Linked DNA regions of Homo sapiens: all the other regions are linked to region 1. The links are contacts of gene promoters, found by promoter capture Hi-C in blood cells and fetal thymus (Javierre and others, 2016). All regions are on one chromosome and are shown on one strand. The core of a region is centred on a gene start or on the middle of the fragment in contact, and the rest is flanking DNA. Distances in the headings are between cores, read along the strand shown. Region 1 holds the start of FLRT3 (fibronectin leucine rich transmembrane protein 3). Region 2 overlaps MACROD2 (mono-ADP ribosylhydrolase 2). Region 3 overlaps MACROD2 (mono-ADP ribosylhydrolase 2). Region 4 overlaps MACROD2 (mono-ADP ribosylhydrolase 2). Region 5 overlaps MACROD2 (mono-ADP ribosylhydrolase 2).

Region 1 (2,585 bases), core at 53-2,552:
ACATGAACAAGTGAAATACACTTATTTGATGGAAAACTTACGGGCACAAAGCAATTGTTGACCAAATAGCAGAAACCAGTCTACAAAAATCATAATTAAAAATACAAGTATAATTCTGTTAATTAGGCATAGAAATTTATAATCTCCACGTCTTACAATTGTCCAGTGTTTATTCATGTACCTAAATTAAACTAAAATAATTTCAATCCAGGCAAACCACCCTGAAAGATTTTTTTCTTAAGATGTTTATATCTAAACCCATGCTCAGATCAGCAAAAACATTTAGAAAGGAAAATATTCTATTAAATTTTTTAAAAACATTTTATTGGGGGATCGTTAAATATAAATAATCCATTTTAAATAATATAAACACGTAGCAGAAGTACATAAAACATACTTTCATTTTCTAAAACATAGAGAACAGTAACTTCTTCGCCTCCAAAAGAACAGACCATTTAATACCATTTAAAAAAATCTTTTGGCATTCCTATTGCCCTTCCCATAACTAAATGAATCAGTGACACGTGTATATATATACATATATTGGAGATGGAGTTTCGTTCTTGTTGCCCAGGCTGGAGTGCAATGGTGCAATCTTGGCTCACTGCAACCTCTGCCTCCCGGGTTCAAGTGATTCTCCTGCCTCAGCCTCCCAAACAGCTGGGATTACGGGCGCCCAGCTAATTTTTTCTACATGTTGGTCAGGCTGGTCTCGAACTCCTGACCTCAGGTGATCCTCCCACCTCGGCCTCCCAAAGTGCCGGAATTAGAGGCGTGAGCCACCACACCCAGCCCTGATGTATATATTTGAATCTGCTGTTTATTCATATGTTGAATAAACATTCACAGTTGGGATTACTGGCATACATCTTCCACAATTATAACATTATTTTAGCTAGTGAATAATAAAACTAATTTGATTTTGGTTAACTTCTTTTCAATACAGATGGTTTAAAAATAAGACAAAGCCTGTCTTTTTCTATTGTGATCTTAAAAATATCTTTCTAACATGCTTTTTAAAAAAAATACATAAGTATGCTACCACTGCCTTGTAGTAAACTTTAGAAAATGTTGAGATTCCAAAGGGCTGCCTACAAACCAAATGGCATCCTAGCTTTGGCAGGCTGATGCTTCATTTTGGCTGCTCTCGCCCCCTCTAGCGTTTGCAAAGCTCATCTGTCTGATTATCCAGTTACCTCACTGAACAAGATCTTGGCTAAGTCCTGCCCATCTATGACATCACCCCCTTCTTCAGCCACTGCGAGGTGAAGCTTTAAACTTCAGACTTGGAGGTGGGCTGTGTGCAGTAAACTGGAATGCTCTCCCTCGCTCACTCCTCAGTGTAGGAGTGATCTGAAGCAGGACAAGCTCAGCCTGCAGCTGCCGTGGGCTTTGTGTGGACTGGACGCAGAGCTTGGGAGACGGGGGAGGGCTATTACTCCAATTCACTGTCAATGGAATTACAGCTATAGCGGCAGTGTATATAGGATTGCTTTTTCTCGTCTTCCTGGTAAGTGTTTTCCATGTTTTTTCTTATGATTGTCCCAGAAAGTTTGCTTGGTTTTACTCTCTAGAAAGAAACGACTTGATACTATGAGAAATCCAAATAGGAACGTTTGCTCTGTCACCACAACAAGCAATATATGTGCGTGCAAGCCAGCAATGAAAAATTTCACTATCATGGCTGAATGTAAGAAGTTTCTTAGAACCTTCTTTCATTTATAAAAGATAGTAAGTGGCTATTTTCTGTCTTGAGTAATTGCTATGTGAAAAGAGCCTTATGGAAAACAGCAAGTTGGAAAGTTCAATGTTAAATATTAAAGAATACAAGGAGATTCTTCACAGATAGGAAAGCAACTTGGTGTGTACTGTACGTGTGGGATGATCACCAATTGCTGTTTTTACAACTGTGAAAGAAAATCAATAATCCCTCAGCCCATGAGTACGCAGTACATGAAAAGCATACATCTTGCTCACAGCTAGCCGAGCTACTCCTGGAGACTTATGTGCCTCTGTAAAGGATTAACAGCTACACCTAGATTTTAAAGCTTGCACTGCTATCGTGCCTGAGCTGCTTCAAGCATTTCAGGCTTGCAAATCTCAACTAGTAAATTGAACTCAGAGGAGGGGGAGACACTCTTCCAAACCATATTCCCTCTTCAATAGAACACCAAAATCCATTGCTTAGGCAAGTGAAGTATGTGACTAGCATAGTAAATGGCTAAGTCTACTCAGAAAAACTAACAAAGCTCACCCTGGAAGCTATGCCTGATGTATGCAGTGAGTTTGGGGTAGCAGGAAAGAAAAATAAATGAGTAGAGCCCTTATCAAGTGGGTTTTGCAGAGGATCCATTCTTTGCAACTTATAATAGGAAAATCTTATATTGGAAGAAATGCATTTATACTACAAAGCTTGAAAAAGTAGTTAAATGTATCTTCTCAAAAAATTTTGTTCACTGAATTAGGTCTGAAACAAAATGGTTGCATATAGGTAAAGAGTGCAACAGGCCCATCCATGTCTTCTCAACATCTGGGGGGTTTGTTTTTATTATTTTATTTAGAATTTAAAAGAAAAAAAATTGATT
Region 2 (2,585 bases), core at 41-2,540, 1.6 Mb before region 1:
TGAAACAAAAGCCTCAGAAGCAGTGGGGAAGCATTTTACCTGCAGCTCTGGAAAACGACCTACTGAAGAAAGTTTCAGATGGGGAAACATTTAGATTTGACCTAAATGGGGAAAAAAAGTTTATAATAGAAGGACAAAAAAAGAAAAAAGAATGATACTCTGAGGTTGGCGAAGAATGCAGTTAATAAATATACGTACAGGACCCCCTGTGTTGGGTTAGCCCTGTGCCGTTTGTGACGGTGGACACAATATAACTACTTTTTTTTTTTTTAATAGACACAGAGCCTTGCTGTGTTGTCCAGCCTGGAGTGCAGTGGCATGTTCATAGCTCACTGCAGCCTTTAACTCCTGGACTCAAGCGATCCTCCCACCTCAGCCTCCTGAGTAGCAGGGTCTACAAGGCACATGCCACCAAGCCTGACTGATTTTTTATTTTTTTGGAGAGAAAGGGTCTTGCTTTGTTGCCTAGGCTGGTTTTGAACTCCTGGCCTAAAGCAATCCTCCCACCTTAGCCTCCCAAACTGCTGGGATTACAGGCATAAGACACCACACCTGGCCTGAATATAATATGAGAACCTGGGGTGGCTCTGCATGCCACTTAAATTCAGTGTTCTAAATGGCATATTTACAAGTACTACATGATTATCTGATATTTTCCCTGTTCTGGTTCTCCATGAAGGAAACAGCATTGGCCTTTGCTCTAGGGAGGAAATAGTCACTTCTGCTGTTCTTGCTGTCTTAACAAGGCCAAGTTGGTGCAGGAGCATGTGCCAAAAACTTAGCCAATATCTGTCCCTTTCCTCCCACCAAATGGACTCTGAGTCAAGCAGGAAAAATCTGCCAGCTTCTCTGTCTCCCTCAAAAGACAGACCTTTTAACACATTTCACAATAGCCATGAAGTTTGCAGGTGACAAGCTTCCTTTGAAAGTACTCTGGTTACCACATCTTCTACAGAGTAGGGGTAGGGAGATTACTTATGAAGTGAGGAAGATAAGAAGGGAAAGAAAAACAGCAGTTAAATTACAGAAAGGTGAGGAATTGGTTCTAATAGTTGTAAATGCATAAGAAGGAAATCCATGGTCAGACCCTGAAATCCAGCTTTCTAATAGTAACAACCAGTCTGGCAGTTTACCTAGTCTACTGCTTCTGGGTTTTTACCCTTAGTTCCTTGTGTGCTACCCCCCTCCCTAGAACAGACATCTGAGTGGCATGCTTTTGTTTTCTCTTTGAGTCTCAGCGGCACTGTTTTCTATTTGCAGTATTTCTGCCCTGGGGAAGCAAACTCAAGAAACACTTGGCACATTTATCACAGAGCAAATGCTTTCTAGAAGAATGCTGGATTTGCCATTCCAGTAACATGTCCTCAGATAAAACGGTCCAGGTATATTGCTTTCATCAATTTCCAAGACAGTGCATCCTCAAATCCAGCAGGGGGAACCAATGTAGAAGGCTTATTTTCCAAGCCCAGCATATGCATTCTTGGGCAATTAGATTAGTATTCATTTCATTCTTTTAGAAGGACATTTTGGCTGGCTTATAACTTTCCATCCATTTTAAATGCTGCAAATGGGTGAGTTCTTAGTGAAATAGGGGGCTTCCACTGGTAGAAAAAGCAAGGCACATTAACACAGTTACCCGTAAGTCTTTGATAAGGACAAGCTTTCTTTTTTATCAGCCTTGTCTGTCTAGCTATCGTCACAGGAAGCACATAAACAATGAAAAATTAAGTAGAGGGATGTGTAAACTTGAGGTTTCCAGAAGGGATTTTAAAAGCCTTACAATAACGGTGAAGAAATATAGGGAAGTGCGAGGCTATTTTGTTAGCTTAAATAATGCCACATAGAAGCTAAATGTTCTCAGTTAATATTCCTTTAAGATCACATATTTATTTCAGATGATAAATTTCCATAGCATTCATGTCGAGTGTGATATAACACTTTACTTTCCCATGCTGAAAAAGCACAGAAACCTGTGAGAATTCTACTGGTTGTGTCCTTCTAATTTCTCCCATATTAGTACTCTGCCTCCTACTCTTTCAACCAATATTTATCAAATGTGTACTGTTTGCAAGAACATTTCAGAAATTTTATAGAAATAAAATAAGAGGCTCCTGCTGCAACGTGACTATGATAAGAAAGCAGTCCATGTTTGACTCTACATGGGAGAGTTTTGTAAGGGCAAAATCTCAACAACATGATCACGGATTGCTATCCTGATATTTGTAGTTCCTTTTGTGAACGCTACATGGTGACAGGAAGATAAACAAGACGTAAGTCTAAATAAATCCATCGCTATACTGGGGAAACAATCTGATGTGTACTTCCTGCTGGTATACTGCTGTCTTTTCTTCTAAAGGTCTATAGATTTCTGGGCACAGACAGACTACGGACAATTCAAAACCAGTGCTTTGCAGATTAGATTATTGGTCTTAATTCTTCAGTCCCCTATAATAAGATTGTGTGTATATGTGTATATATATATATATAAAATCAGTGTCCTCCCACTGTGAGCAGAGAATATTTCCATGCCATTGATGTTGGACTTGACCATGGGACTTAATTTAGCTAATGAAATGCTAGTGGAG
Region 3 (2,585 bases), core at 64-2,563, 1.3 Mb before region 1:
TAAGTGATTAAGTTGTTTTGTTATACAGCAAAAACTAGCTTATACATTTTTCTTTATCATAAAACACAGCTCAGATCTTCAGACCAAGATAAGAGAAGTGATAAAACTAATAGCCAAAGTGATCATGTGACTATTTCAAAGTCAAGCCTTCACAGGTCCATGGATGGCTGAAACCTTGACCTCTTCACTTCTAGTCTCTCTTTCTTTAGACTTGCAGCATACAATGATATTCGATACATATGATGTTGATATGATATATATGAATATGATATTCAATATATTGACTAAAAAGGAACAGAGGACTGAATTTGAGGTCGCTGCCCTAGGATTTCTATTTCCCAAGGCATGTTTTATGTGTCTTCATTTCCAAACTGTCATCTTTAACATTTGTCTCTGGAAGCTTACACAAGTTATAAAAAATGTCTCAGATGTATTTGGGACATTTATGAAAAATGAATTTGTGAAGATATGCCACAGCAACAGGCAATCAGGAGGTTTTTGCCTAGAAAAGTGTCCTTAACATGGGAGAAACAAGTATTTAAAAGCAAAGATGACTTTAATTCCTAAAGGCTTTGCTTTCTGGAGACCCTGAGTCTGTCTGTAGAAGTTCGTGTTGCATCAGGACGGAGACTGAAATGGGCAACTGAGCAGAAACAGGATAGGGCTCTGTTTCTGCCTCTGTTTGACAACACCATCCTAGCATTAGTCGGGGACAATGTCGTGCCAGCCAGAACCTTCTTGGCTTTATGGCTGAAAGCTCATAGGTATTCCAAAACTCTGAGAGGGAAAAGTAGCCATTTAACTCTATTTAACTGTTGCTTTCCGATTCCTTCGTTTTAACCTTTCCAATCTAGATAGTTGCTTCCCATTTTCTCTGCAAGAAAACATTTACAAGCCAGAGAAAGGTACTACATATTACCTACTGATTAAAAGTGCAGGGGTCAGGGACACCCCAACACTTATTAACAGGGTGACCATAGGTAAGTTGCCTCAGTTTTGCATCTCTAAAATGAGGGTAATAAAAGTACTGACTTCTAGGCTGTTGTGAGGATTACATTAGGTAATGCACACAAAACACACAGCACCATGCCTGTCACATAGTAGGTGCTCAATACGTGTTTATAAAGGAAAACATAAAGCTAGTTGTTGGTAGCACTCCAGTCTTCCCCCAGCCTATTCTCCCACCTGCCCTTTGTGCCCCTGGTTCTAAACTCTACCTCTTGACAATTTTCTTAGGTCTTCCTGGTTGGGGAAATTTTTATTTAGGACATTACCTCGGCTTTGGCAAATAAAATCCAATTTTCCTTCCAGTCTTGGCCTTGCTCTTGCCAGGCAAATTCCCTAATGATACCCGTTCTCTCCATTCCCTAATGACCAGCTCAAAGTGCCCTTCCAGGAAGGAGGATCATATATTAGGCTTAAACCTAATCATAGGAGGCTTTCATATTTTTACTTGGATTAATAAACTGCATCCTAATGAAAAATCAGGGAGCAGGAGTTGGGGGGAGTGATGTGGTTACTACATTTCCAGCTATGAGACACTGTGACATTACTGACAGTTTCAAGAGTAGGAAAGAACCAGGGTACATAAGTCGGCTCAGTTTAAACCCAGTGAAAATATCTTAGCATTAGAAATAAAGCCTTGGCAATCACATAATGAAGGAAAAATATAAAAACTTATACCCTGCACATTTCATGTGTGCAATAATGCTTACTGAGGCTGGAATAAGCAATCTCCTATTATCCTATAAAATTATAATGCAGCAAACAATGTTGTCAACAAATCAGTGGTAATTATATTCGTACTTTGACCTCATTGCACCCGTGTACAATGTGTTTCCTTTTATTCAAAGATCTGTTACATCAAGCTAGTTAGTTATGAGATAAAAATAAACAACATAGTTGGACTTCACTTTTTTCACTTGTTAAAAGGTTGGAGTATATATTGTTTTAGGTCCCTTCTAGCTCTAAATGCTCTAGTTTCTCTAAATTTCTTTCCTGTTCTTGGGTTTTTAACGTTTATGTGTAGCTAGATATTTGCTATTTCTAGGTCATGCTCCACTCAAATACACCTTCTTTCTGTAAGCATATTAAAAAATGAAAGTTATTTACAGGAGCCTACTAGTTAATCTATGTAGAAGGAATGATAGAATTAGAGAATCACCATTTTGCTAACCCTACTGGAGTGATTTAGAAAAGGCTCATCAATGGATAATACAAGCTTCAGGTTTGGGTAAGCAAGCTAGGCAATGACGCCAGTGTCAACTCACAGATCACTTACTAATTGAAAACGAGGGAGAAAATGTATCTTCATAATCGAGATAATTTTGCGACAAACATCAAAACCAGGTGACCAAACATGGCACCACAAATAACAATGGGAACCTCTTGATGTGAATGAAATGCGCAGCATCACCTATGATTTTTATTTTTTATTTTATTTTTCAGACAGAGTCTCACTCTGTCGCCCAGGCTGGAGTGCAGTGGCATGACCTCGGCTCACTGCAAGCTCCGCCTCCCAGGTTCAAGCCATTCTCCTGTCTCAGCCTCCCAAGTAGCTGGGATTACAGGCATGTGCCATCACG
Region 4 (2,585 bases), core at 23-2,522, 1.3 Mb before region 1:
AAAGCATTCTTGATAAAGAAACACACAGTCTTAAATGGCTTTGCAATAATACACACCCAGATTTTTTTCCAAGCCTATAAAGGACATTGTGGCTTCCTCCCCAAAGATCCCCTCCTCAAAAAGTAGACCCTAATTTGTCTAAGCCAATCAGAGTGGTACTATCTTTCTTGACACAGAGATTGGTTAAGAAATCGCAGGCCTAAACTAATTGCCACATAGCAACCTAATGACTTCTGTGAGTCACTCAGAAGTGGCCCCAAGTAAGGCAAAGCTTAGGACTTTCAATGGGATTTTGGAAACAGATGTTTTCTCTGTGTCTGGACAGTGAGAGTTGAGGCTATGAGATTTGGAACAACTGCAGGCAAGGAATAAAATGAGTGAGCTCTGTCATAATTCACGACTCTGGAACTTGCATGGTCTTTACTGTGTTTGCTCTTGGAGCGCTCTTGAAATTTTAAACTTACCAACTGACTGCTCAGCCATACCTTTGTAAACATGTGCTATACTCTTATAATTGAATACAAGTCAGTATGTGCAACAATGTGGAAATAACAATGCTATCCGATTTAATAAAATGTTTGAACACTGAAAAAGAAGAAAGAAAGAAAGAAAGAAAGAAAGAAAGAAAGAAAGAAGGAAAGAAAGAAGAAAGGAAAAAGAAGGAGAAAGAGAAAGAGAGAAAGAAAGAAAAGAAAGAAAGAGGAAGGGAAGGGAAGGGAGGGGAGGGGAGGGAAGGGGAGGGGAGGGGAGGGAAGGGGAGGGAAGGGGAGGGGAGGAGAAAAGAAAAAAGCAAAGAAAGAAAGAAACAGATCCAGTTCCAGATACATTCTTCAGCTTCTAAAACAAGCTATTCTGAGGCTGTTCTACTTCTGGACTATCCAGTGACCTGAGTCAATAAATTTCCTCTATTACATAAGCCATTTTTATTTGGTTTCCTCTTTATAGACTAAGTAAAGAGTTTTAACAGATAGGATAAATTTAGACAAGTTTCTAATCTGTTTAGGACATCCTTTTTCTCATCTCTCAGTGGAAACATTCCATCTCTCTAATGGTCTCATTAAGGGATAAGTTTAATAAGAGTCACTCTTTCACCCATCCATCCATCCATCCATCCATCCATCCACCATCCATCCACCCATCCATCTACCTGTTCATCTATGTATCTATTTGCTCCTTTATTTAATGAGCACATTTTATGTGTCAAACACTGTCGCGTGAGAAAGAGCAATGAACACAAATGACAAAGTCCCTAATGTTACACTATTATACAACAAAGAAGTGATTTCAGAATTTCTCAGATGTGTATGCCATGGAGCTCACTAAGGTTGATAGGAAGTATTGAGGAATTGTATAACATGGTCAGGGAAGGCCACAATGATAAGAATGGACATTGCCACAGAGATGAGAAATAAATGAGGAGGCCAGCCAGGCAAAGATGAAGGAAAGCATTCCAGGAGCAGAAAAAGGAGGCCCAAGGTCCTGTGGAGTCCTGTATTGGACTTATTCAAGTGATAGCAAGAAGGCTTGTGGCTGGAGCTCATGTAGAGTGAGATGATGCTTCTTAAATATCATGGCCAATCTATCACCAGCCCTATTAAGTTAACCACCTAAAAATTATTTTAATCTATTACTTTCTCTTATTTCCACAGCCTTGGCTTCTATCTTCATCAACATTAAATTCCCTGGTGGCAGCAATCTCCTCAGTGCACTTCCCTCCCTGAGTGTTACACCTCTGCCGTCATCCATTACAGTGTTTTGAGAACAATCTATAGACACATGCATACGCCAAGAAAGCCTTCAGTTAAAATTGTCTGTTGTCCTCTGGGCACAGTGGCTCATGCCTGTAATCCCAGCACTTTGGGTTAGGAGGCCAAGGCGGGCAGATTACTTGAGGTCAGGAGTTTGAGAACAGCCTGGCCAACATGGTGAGACCCCATCTCTACTAAAAATACAAAAATTAGCCGATGCGGTGGTGCACGCCTGTAGTTCCAGCTACTTGGGAGACTGAGGCAGGAGAATCACTTGAACCTGGGAGGCTGAGGTTGCAGTGAGCCAAGATTGCACCACTGCACTCTCGCCTGGGTGACAGAGCAAGACTCCATCTCAAAAAAAAAAAAAAATCATCTATTGTCTCTCCATTACTTACGGTAGTGACCTGCAAACTTATATTCATCCAGACCCTATCAGTAAAATAATTTTAGCACATACTTTTCCCACAAGAATTATATTTCCTCTGTTATTGCATTTGTATGCTATACATATTTTAAAGCTTTACCAAAAACGGAAAGAAAAAACAGTATCAAAGAGAAATATAAAGACAAACTTTAATATTTTCTTCTTGTGTCTCAGTGGATCATTTTGTGCATCCTAATGTGGGGATTGCTGACTCCTTAGCATGGCAGATCCTTCAGCCCTTTGCTAACTCTATGACTTCCTCTCTTGTCTCATGTTTATGCCGTAATAGAACCAAGCTGTTTGTAACTCTTCATACATACCATCTTTGTTTCCTGCCCCTGTGCTTTTGCCCAGGCTGTTTCTTCCACCTGTCATTTCTTCTTCCCAGTCTATCTAGGTAATTTCTCCTT
Region 5 (2,585 bases), core at 51-2,550, 1.0 Mb before region 1:
AAAAGGACTGGGAATTATATTTAGGTATTCATCACTGAGGCTGGATCTGCATCTGGAATGTAAAATAGGGAATTTTTACTATCATCTGGATAATTTAGTCTACAAGTATCTCTTTTGAACTGTGCATACCTCAACGACTGAAAATTTAGGAGTTTATTTAGATTCCTGCTCCTTTCTCACATTTTTCTATACATAGATAAATGAATAGGAGGAAAATGTAGTTAATCATGTATTCACCTCGATCTATAAAAGTCATATTTAAAGGAGATATGTAGACTGTAAGGGAAGAAGGGACTTTCCATCAAACCAAGTAGACCACAGAAATCAATCTTGGAGTGTAGTAACATGACGGATGTTACAGTTGATCTCTATCACACTCTAAATGCATGGACAGGCAGCTTTATGAATAACTGGTATTCTGGAATCTTTGAATAAAAATCTCAGGTCCTTTTAGGAAGGATGAATGTTTGATTAAAGCTGCTTGGTATCTTCTTAGAAATGATCAAAGAATACTCAGATATATAGAAGTACTGAACTGGGAGATGAAACACCCAGTTTCTAGTCTTATCTTTAACACTAACTTGATGGATTATTTACTTCCATTGGTCTCTGTTTTCTTGTATCTGATATTGTAGGCTAAAGACAGGTCAGTGTTTGGTTTCATAAAGAGAGACAGCAGAGGGAGAGAGAAGATATCACTGACTGTCAAAGTATTAGATAAATGGTGCATTCTAATGAAGCCTTCTTCTGAATCACTGCCTTACTTATATCTGGCCAAACAAGTAAGATAAACATGCCATTCCAACATTTTTATTTAGTAGATCAATTTTTTATCCTCAATCAGAGTGACACCATCTTTGAAAAATGCTTGCAGTAGGCACTTTGGTTTCCTTTGGTTAGAAAAGGGTTTAAAGTCCTCCAACAAATGAACACAAAAAATGTCAAAATAATGTTGTAACAAGAGCACGTACAAGCCAAGCAGTATCAGATGTACTTTCAGATTCATGGCCCTAATTCACCCTGATGTGAGCGGAAGGCCTGGCTGATCCGGAGCCCCAAAAGGAATTCTGACAACATGCCTTTTGCTTTGTACTGTTCATGCTGCAATTCCTAGGTGCATCTGGGCTATCACTGAAGCAATACTTTCTATTTCCAAAGCACTTTATAATCATTAATGATTTATGCCTTACAACATCCCTCCAAGGGAGGTCAGTAGCAAAACACAAGGAACACAAATGAAGAAACAACTGGAAGATATTAAGTGATACGGTGGAAATCGCACAGCAAAAAAGATAATAGTAAAGCAAAGCGCCCTCTGCTCTTCACACAGATTCAAGGTGGGTGTGTGATAGAGAATATTTCCATAATAAGGTCACATATATTCCCGTACCACCAATGAAGTTCCACCCCTCCGAAAACTCCCCTCCCCACTTTCACTCTTTTCTTGCTTTCTCCTTAATCCATTTAATGTTTTAAGTCACATTTTTACTATATTACAGTAATTTAGTCCTCTGGTATTTGCAATTCAATCGAGTATCCTTGGTCGTAATCTAACAGAAGCTAATAAAAGACCTTCCCTGACCAGAAAATAAAAGATTAGAAATATTTAAACCATATTATTGGCTTGTCCCCATCCCATACATTTTTGTCCGTGATTTTAAAGTTTTTATAGATCCACTGATATCCATTCAAGGATTCCTTCAGACTCAAATTCCTACTACAGGGATGCTGACCCTAGAGATTCCATTCCTACTGCCACCCAAATCCTCCAACTAATGAACACAAAAAATGTCAAAATACAAGCCAAGTCGTAACTCCAGGAGTTGACCGATCCTAGTCTGACATTGGCTGGGACTCTTGGAACCCATATAGCCCTAAATTAACAATGCCTGCTCTAACTTCTGGAGGCCATTTGTCAGTAGTTATACCTGTGCAACTTGCGTTGATCTGCAGAAAACATGTGTCTCAAAAGGGTGTATGTTCACCAACATTTTGTAAATTATATGACATGTTTCTATTGATTTACATTATAATGTAATAGATTTTTTACTTTTAGGTTAAAGGCATGTTAAACTATCAATCACTTTTGATGCCTTAATTGTATTTTTTTTCCTATTACTGGGTTTTTTTCAGGGGCAGGGTCTCGCTTTGTTGCCCAGGCTGAAGTACAGTGGTGTGATCAAAGCTCACTGCAGCCTCAAACTCCTAGGCTTAAATTATTCTCCTGCCTCAGCTTCCCAAATAGGTAAGATTACAAGTGCACACCACCGCACCTAGCTAATTTTTTAAAAAATTTTTGTAGAGACAGGTTGTTGCCATGTTGTCTAGGCTGGTCTTGAACTCCTGGCCTCAAGCCATTCTCTCTCCTTGGCTTCCTTAATAGCTGGGATTACAGGCATGAGCCACCATGCATAGTCTTAATGCCTTAATTTTAAATGTATCTACTTTTACTTCTTTCATTTTTTTTCTCAGTAAGAATCTACTAGTCAATACTAGGGAAAGCTGAAATATAGACTTCCAGAGGTGTATGCTTTTGCATGTTGAAGAAATATTTTTGTAAAGTGAATAAGTCTTCAATTCATCTC

The links. The method cuts DNA at HindIII sites, captures the fragments that hold promoters and counts their contacts. A CHiCAGO score of 5 or more calls a contact.
Region 2: a fragment that was not itself captured here is called in contact with the fragment with the promoter of FLRT3 in region 1 in 2 of 17 cell types (endothelial precursors and naive B cells); the score reaches 8.9 in endothelial precursors.
Region 3: a contact is called between a fragment that was not itself captured here and the fragment with the promoter of FLRT3 in region 1, in 1 of 17 cell types (total B cells). The highest score is 5.5, in total B cells.
Region 4: a contact is called between a fragment that was not itself captured here and the fragment with the promoter of FLRT3 in region 1, in 3 of 17 cell types (fetal thymus, total B cells and naive B cells). The highest score is 5.8, in fetal thymus.
Region 5: a contact is called between a fragment that was not itself captured here and the fragment with the promoter of FLRT3 in region 1, in 1 of 17 cell types (M2 macrophages). The highest score is 5.6, in M2 macrophages.

The regions. Positions count from the first base shown.
Region 1 is chr20:14,336,329-14,338,913 of GRCh38, reverse strand. FLRT3 (fibronectin leucine rich transmembrane protein 3) reads left to right here and starts at 1,302. Exons shown (of 3, transcript NM_198391.3): 1 at 1,302-1,510. All of the region lies in intron 3 of MACROD2 (mono-ADP ribosylhydrolase 2), which reads right to left. The HindIII fragment of the contact is 777 bases long and covers 1,274-2,050 here.
Region 2 is chr20:15,929,333-15,931,917 of GRCh38, reverse strand. The region is part of intron 10 of MACROD2 (mono-ADP ribosylhydrolase 2); the gene reads right to left. The region is part of intron 1 of LOC613266 (a long non-coding RNA gene); the gene reads left to right. Among named protein-coding and RNA genes, the nearest start is that of KIF16B, 640 kb to the left of the region's middle. The HindIII fragment of the contact is 744 bases long and covers 919-1,662 here.
Region 3 is chr20:15,668,428-15,671,012 of GRCh38, reverse strand. The region is part of intron 8 of MACROD2 (mono-ADP ribosylhydrolase 2); the gene reads right to left. Among named protein-coding and RNA genes, the nearest start is that of MACROD2-AS1, 740 kb to the right of the region's middle. The HindIII fragment of the contact is 1,821 bases long and covers 403-2,223 here.
Region 4 is chr20:15,647,258-15,649,842 of GRCh38, reverse strand. All of the region lies in intron 8 of MACROD2 (mono-ADP ribosylhydrolase 2), which reads right to left. Among named protein-coding and RNA genes, the nearest start is that of MACROD2-AS1, 720 kb to the right of the region's middle. The HindIII fragment of the contact is 1,998 bases long and covers 274-2,271 here.
Region 5 is chr20:15,341,601-15,344,185 of GRCh38, reverse strand. The region is part of intron 6 of MACROD2 (mono-ADP ribosylhydrolase 2); the gene reads right to left. Among named protein-coding and RNA genes, the nearest start is that of MACROD2-AS1, 410 kb to the right of the region's middle. The HindIII fragment of the contact is 7,820 bases long and covers 1-2,585 here.